Linked DNA regions of Homo sapiens: region 2 is linked to region 1. The links are contacts of gene promoters, found by promoter capture Hi-C in blood cells and fetal thymus (Javierre and others, 2016). All regions are on one chromosome and are shown on one strand. The core of a region is centred on a gene start or on the middle of the fragment in contact, and the rest is flanking DNA. Distances in the headings are between cores, read along the strand shown. Region 1 holds the start of MIOX (myo-inositol oxygenase). Region 2 overlaps PPP6R2 (protein phosphatase 6 regulatory subunit 2).

What was found. The method cuts DNA at HindIII sites, captures the fragments that hold promoters and counts their contacts. A CHiCAGO score of 5 or more calls a contact.
Region 2: a fragment that was not itself captured here is called in contact with the fragment with the promoter of MIOX in region 1 in 12 of 17 cell types (total CD8 T cells, M1 macrophages, M0 macrophages and 9 more); the score reaches 8.3 in total CD8 T cells.

Annotation. Positions count from the first base shown.
Region 1 is chr22:50,485,413-50,488,416 of GRCh38, reverse strand. It overlaps MIOX (myo-inositol oxygenase), which reads right to left and starts at 1,558. Exons shown (of 10, transcript NM_017584.6): 1 at 1,505-1,558; 2 at 952-1,032; 3 at 675-755; 4 at 369-531; 5 at 75-142. The coding sequence starts at 1,519. ADM2 (adrenomedullin 2) reads right to left here. Exons shown (of 3, transcript NM_001253845.2): 3 at 1,980-3,004. The HindIII fragment of the contact is 4,673 bases long and covers 1-1,999 here.
Region 2 is chr22:50,360,097-50,363,100 of GRCh38, reverse strand. The region is part of intron 1 of PPP6R2 (protein phosphatase 6 regulatory subunit 2); the gene reads right to left. Among named protein-coding and RNA genes, the nearest start is that of PPP6R2, 18 kb to the right of the region's middle. RefSeq lists an enhancer at 1,598-1,647. The HindIII fragment of the contact is 3,779 bases long and covers 1-3,004 here.

The sequences.
Region 1 (3,004 bases), core at 309-2,808:
CCAAGCACCAAGGCCACTCCACCCCCACCTTGCCTCAACATGCAGCCTCCTCACCCTCCACTTCCAACTCTTACCTGGGGCTCCCCGAACAGGGCCAGGACCTTCCCCAGGTCGTGCAGGAGCCCGACGAGGTGGAACCAGTCTGGGAGGGGGATGGACAGGGCAGGTTGGGGACTGCAGGGGCCAAGGCAGAGGATGAGCAGGTTTGCGGGGCTGAGAGCCAGGAAGGGTCCAGGGCCTGCTCCCCAACCCAGGCAGGGCTGCTGGAGGAGGCCTGGGCCCACTACTGTCCCCTCCCACCCTACAGGCTGCTGCATTCTGCCCCTTGGAGGCAGCACCTGCCCCCCTGCAGCACAGCCAGGGCTCACCCTTGTCTGGGTGGGCCTTCCGGATGCCCTCCGCTGTCTGGAAGGCATGGAAGGAGTTGGGGAAATCTACGTCCGGGTCCGACTCATCCACCAGCCCATCCAGCAGGTCCACGGCCTCCATGACTGTCATTTTCTTGTAGGAGAAGCCCCCAAACTGGGCATGCTGGCGGGGAAGGAGAAGGCAGTGTGGCCCAGGGTCAGCAGGCCCACCACACAGGCCTCTCCATCCCCTCGGCGCCTGGTGGGCTCATGGGGCTGAGGGCAAGGGTCCCTCCGCGTTTGCACGGGGCGGCAGGAAACGCCTACCTTGCTCCTGACGAAGTCCACTGTCTGGTGCGTGTGCATGAGCTTGTAGGTGGTGAAGACACGGTCCAGGAGGGGACCTGACTGCAGGCCGGAGGGTCAGTGGCGCCACCCCCACCCTGCACACGAGGCCCCATGCCTCCCCTCTCCCAGGCAGCCCCACAGGGTGTGATGGGGGTGGGAGTTCCCACAGGGCACCCCCTGGAACTGTGTGAAGGGCAAGTGCTGCTCCCCAGGGTGTGGATGGGGGAGAAGGGGGGCAGGACGGCAAGGTACTCACCGTGTAGTTCCGGAAGCTGGCCTTGTCTTTGGCCACCTCTGGGTCCACATCAGGTCGGTAGACCAGGGAAGGGTCTGGGCCCTGGGTAGGTGGAGGATTGAACCTATTTCACCATCATGTCAGCTCCACGAGGAAGCACAGACATTCCCAGGGTGGCTGCAGACTCCAAGCCTGCCTCTGCTCGAGGGCTGGTGGGTGACACGCGAGGACACAGCCTCTCCCACGCCATCATCCCAGCCCCTGCCCTGGCCTCAGCGAGTCCCAGGAGCTCTCACTCCCAGGTCCTCATCTGCAAAGCGAAAGTCAGCAGACGTCTGCTTCCGGGGTACAGGGGACACCACGCCTGAGCGGCACCCATGGCCACCCTTGAGGGGTGGAAGTGGCTTTGGGAGGAGACTGAGTCCACAGGGAGCCTGGGGGTCGGCAGCCGCTGGCTCTTGCCCAGCTGGACGGAGGAGGAGGGCTGGCCAGTGCCAGCTAGAAGAGGGCGGGAGTGGCTGGCCACCAGGAGAGCAGTCAGCAGAGCCTCTCTGCATGGGGTCTGGGTACTCACCACCGTCACCTTCATCCTGAGAGGGAGCGGCGCTCAGGTGGCAAAGCACAGGCTGGCGAGTGTGTCCTCAGCCAGGCTCCTATATACACCCCAGGTTACATAAGTGTCCGCAGTAATAAATGACCATCCACCCTCCTCCCGGCCTCAGGGAGTTAATGTGTCAGCACAGCAGCAGCCCCCAGCAGTCCCACATCCTCTGGCCCTGACTCAGCCTCACACTCCTGTCCCGAGCCGCTGACCTGCCTAGGGTTATCTGTGGGCCCAGCCTCCCACTTGGGCCCTGGCCTTAGACCCCTCTGTGGGGTCCCACAAGTAGGGGCAGACCCAAGACCCCACCCTCAAGCACACGCCCCCTCTGCACCACCCCTTCCCCGGCTGCCCCACTGGATCTCAGGAGGTGAAAACTTGTCCCCAGGCCCCCCGTGATTCTGGGTGGGGCAGGAGCTTGTTAAGAAAAGATGATTCTGAGGACTTGTTAAAATGGTGAGAAAAGCTTTATTCAAGAGAGTGGTGAGAGGAGCTCACCTCCGAGTTCAACAACCACAGCTGGAGATTGATGGCGTTGGAGGGGTCAGCGGATGGGAAGTTGTTAGGGCGGCCTTCGAGGGTAGGGGGATTCTCACTGGAGTGGCTCAATGAGGATCTTGCAGGAGGCCGGCAGGGTGATGAGATCAAGGGTGGGAGATGAGGAATGGGATCAGATATCGAGGGTGGGTAATTCTCCATAAACTGATTTAGAGGATTCTTGCTAACACCGGGGTCGGCGGGCCCAGCGAGGATGGGGATGGGGTCAGGCCTCGTCGAGGAAAGGACTCAGGGGCACCTGCCTAGAGTTCGGCCACAGAGTGTGTCAGGCTCTGGGAGAGGGGCCTCACGGAGAGTTGGAGCAGGCACGGAACCGCCAACACCCAGGCCGCCAACGCAACTTCCCATGCATGGGCCCTGCAGGCATGGAGGACACCGTGAGAACAAAGTGCCCGCGGCAGAGCTGGCGTCTTGGAGCGTGGCCAGGGAAGTCTGGGAACAGCAGTCGGCTGGGGCAGGAGAGAGGGCAGTGGGGTGCTGGGGCCATACCTAGGGCTGTGAAGATCAGAGTTCTGGGCTTCAGGGGTCAGGCAAGAGGGCTGTGGGCAGCTGACCTGACTCAACAAGATCCTGGCACAGCTGAGCTGAGAAGCAACTGTGAGGAGACCCCAGCGCCCCCCATTTAAACGGCACCTGCCCCACACTCTCCTTCCTTGTCTGACTTCCTGTGGCACTCAGCACTCCCTGCCACTCCACCACCCACTTATTCTACCTTCTACGTTTGTCTCCTTCTATCTCCCCCTAGAATGTCAGCCCCTGGGGGTCAAGGCTGTATCCTCACGTGTCCCAACACGGGTAGGTCACGTGCTCAGCATGCACTGGCCAGAGGGATGCAGACAGGTGCCTGGGAGGAGGCTACGGCCATCGCCCCGAAAGCAGGTGGTGCCTGGGTCAGGAGAAGGTGTCTGGATAGGT
Region 2 (3,004 bases), core at 306-2,805, 130 kb after region 1:
TTTAAATCCCCACATCTTCATGTTTATAATTAACTTTTGAACACTATGTGGGCCAATAAAATGCAGGACAAGCTAAATACATCCTCAGGCCACCAGTGGCTAAGGAGCCAGTCTTCAATGACTGCTCTGCCAGAGAGCCAGCCACCTTCTTGCCCTCCACTGACCCGGTGTCTTCGTATGCTTAGGCGGCCAGAATACAACACCTTCAACAGCAGACAATTATTCCTCACAGTTCTGGGGCCTAGAAGTCCAAGGTCAAGGTGCTGGCCAATTAGGTTGCTGAGAAAGCCTGTCTTCCCTGCCCTTAGACCATTGCCTTCTCACTGTGTCCTCACAGCAGGGAGGGTGAGAGCAAGCTCTCTGGTGTATCTTTGTATGAGGGTGTCAGTCCCATCTTGAGAGCCCCACCTGGTGACCTCACGGAACCTAATTATCTCCTAAAGGCCTCCCTCCAAATACCACTAAATGGAACTTAGGATTTCAACATAGGAATCTGGGGTGGACACGACACAATTCAGTCCCTAGCACCCTGCCTGTCTTTGAGCCCTTCCACCAACTAAGGATGGCATGAGGCCTCCATGCAGAGCACGTGCTCTGCAACGGGAACACAGTAAGGACTCAGCGACGGGCTGAGAAGAGCTGACGTCGCTGCACATTCCAAGGTCTTCAAGCTCCCAAGGTAGCAATTCTCCTCCCAGCAGCGGAGGCCCAGCTGGTCTCCCACCAAAGTCTCAGAAAGGTGACTTTAACACACAGCCCCGAGAGATGGCTGTCAGGCCCACGCCAGGCTCAGAAGAGTATCCTCCTGGCTGTTACATAGGATGAAGGCTCAAGTGAAAACTGAAAACCTCCATCTGCTCAACACTAGCAACCATGGCAGCTCTCCCAGTTAAGGACAGAGATGGCCAGCATTATGAGGATGCACCTTCCTCATCACCAGTGCTAAGGGCCCTAGCCCCGACTCCTCCCCTTCCTGGAGCCCAATGCAGACCCTCCAGGCAGCCAGAGAACCTCTTGAGCCAGGGAGGCCTGGCCACATCAGGGCAGTCCCTGACCACAAAGGTCCAGGCATAAAGTCCAGTTTCCATCACTGAGCAGCTCTGGAACCTTGGGCAAGTGCCTGCTGCATGTGCACTGCAGGTAAAAGTGTTGACTCCAAGACAGAGAACAGTCATGACTGCCACCACTGCCCTAGGACAGTGACTAATACCAGATGCCTCCAAGGGGCCTAGAGAGAAAAACAATCAACTGCAGGAAACCAAAGGCCCACCACAGCAAGGCCCTAGTCCGCACCTACGCGCACCACAAGACAGACAGCGCACCTATGCTATATTTGTTGTCAATAATATAATCCTGGGAAAACAAGTACCAGAACAAAGAGTCAAAGGCAGACGAGCAGGGCATACTCTGGGTCCTGGGTCAAAGGAAGACAAGCAGGGCATACTCTGGGCTGAGACTGTTGAAGGAAAAATAGCTGAAGGCAAGCTAGATAAAAAGCATTGTCAAACAAGCAGAAAACAGCACCAAAAAGCAGCAGGGAGGAAACTGGGGCAGTGAACAAAGCTCAAGTCCAAACAAGACGCACAGAAGAAGTAAGAGCCAACAAACTGCCTTTAGGGTTCCAGCAGCCACAGGAGAGTGGCAGTAGCTGGCTTCATCCGTACACTCAAAGCTCAAAGCCTAATGCAGCAGGTAGTTTCCTACCAACCCCCAGTTCACAAGTAAAAAGCAGAGGTCTCAGTAATTACATGACTAGCGCAACGTCATGGGCTAGTAAGTATCCGTTCTAGAACTTGAACCCAGGTTTGGCTGAGAGCAAAGCCCATGTTCTCAGTCTCCATATGATAACCAGATTCTGACTGAGTCAATGAAGAAAAAAAGGAGTTATCAAAGGAAATCCAAAAGGAATGACCAAGATTGAGGGTGATGACAGGAAGGCACTACCCAGGACCGAACTAGTCCAGGAAGGGCATCACAGCAAAGAGCTGAGAAAGGGTCAGAGCAGAGTTCCACAGGCTTAGAGATGGTGGGATCATGAGGAGAGAGAAGTCAAGTCTTCAAAGTGGAGCAGTCAACAGGATGATGAGTGACAGTCAAATTCTTGAAGAGCTCCTAAAGGTCTGACTGTCCACAGTAGCCCAGAGAGAGGACACTGGGCATCAGTCAGTTCATTCAGCAACAAATGTAGCTAATAATGGGACAAACCTAGTCATGCCCCAAGGAACCTGACGTCTAGCAGAGAAAACAGATACTGACAGACTCTACACAGTGCCAAACCTGAGAGAGACTGGTGTGAGCAGCAACAGTGGGCAGAAGCACAGGTCAGCTCCCTGGCTCACACCCAATAGGTGTCCTATCTGTGAGCTCTGACAGTGTAGCTAACTGCCAGCTTCTCTGTGGCTCCTCGGTAAACAGGGATAAAAATACAGATCTCCTGGGCCAGGAATGGTGCCTCACACCTATAATCCCCATGCTTTGGGAGGTCCAGGCAGGAGGATTGCTTGAAGCCAGGAGTTCAAGACCAGCCTGAGCAACACAGAGAGACCCCATCTCTAAAAACCTTTTTTTAAATTAGCCAGGTGTGGTGGCATGTACTTGCAGTCCTAGCAACTCAGGAAACTGAGGCAGGAGGGTCTCTTATGCCTGAGAGTTCAAGACTGCAGTGAGTCATGATCATGTGTTCATACCACTTGCACTTCCAAGTGGGCAGCAGAGGAGACCCTGTCTCTCTTAAAAAAAAAAAAAAAAAAGGCTGAGCATGGTGGCTCACGCCTATAATCCCAGCACTTTGGGAGGCCAAGGCAGGCAGATCATGAGGTCAAGAGATCAAGACCATCCTGGCCAACACGGTGAAGCCCCATCTCTACTAAAAATACAAAAATCAGCCAGGCGTGGTGGCACGCACCTGTAGTCCCAGCTACTTGGGAGGCTGAGGCAGGAGAATCGCTTGAACCCAGGAGATGGAGGTTGCAGTGAGCCGACATTGTGCCATTGCATTCCAGCC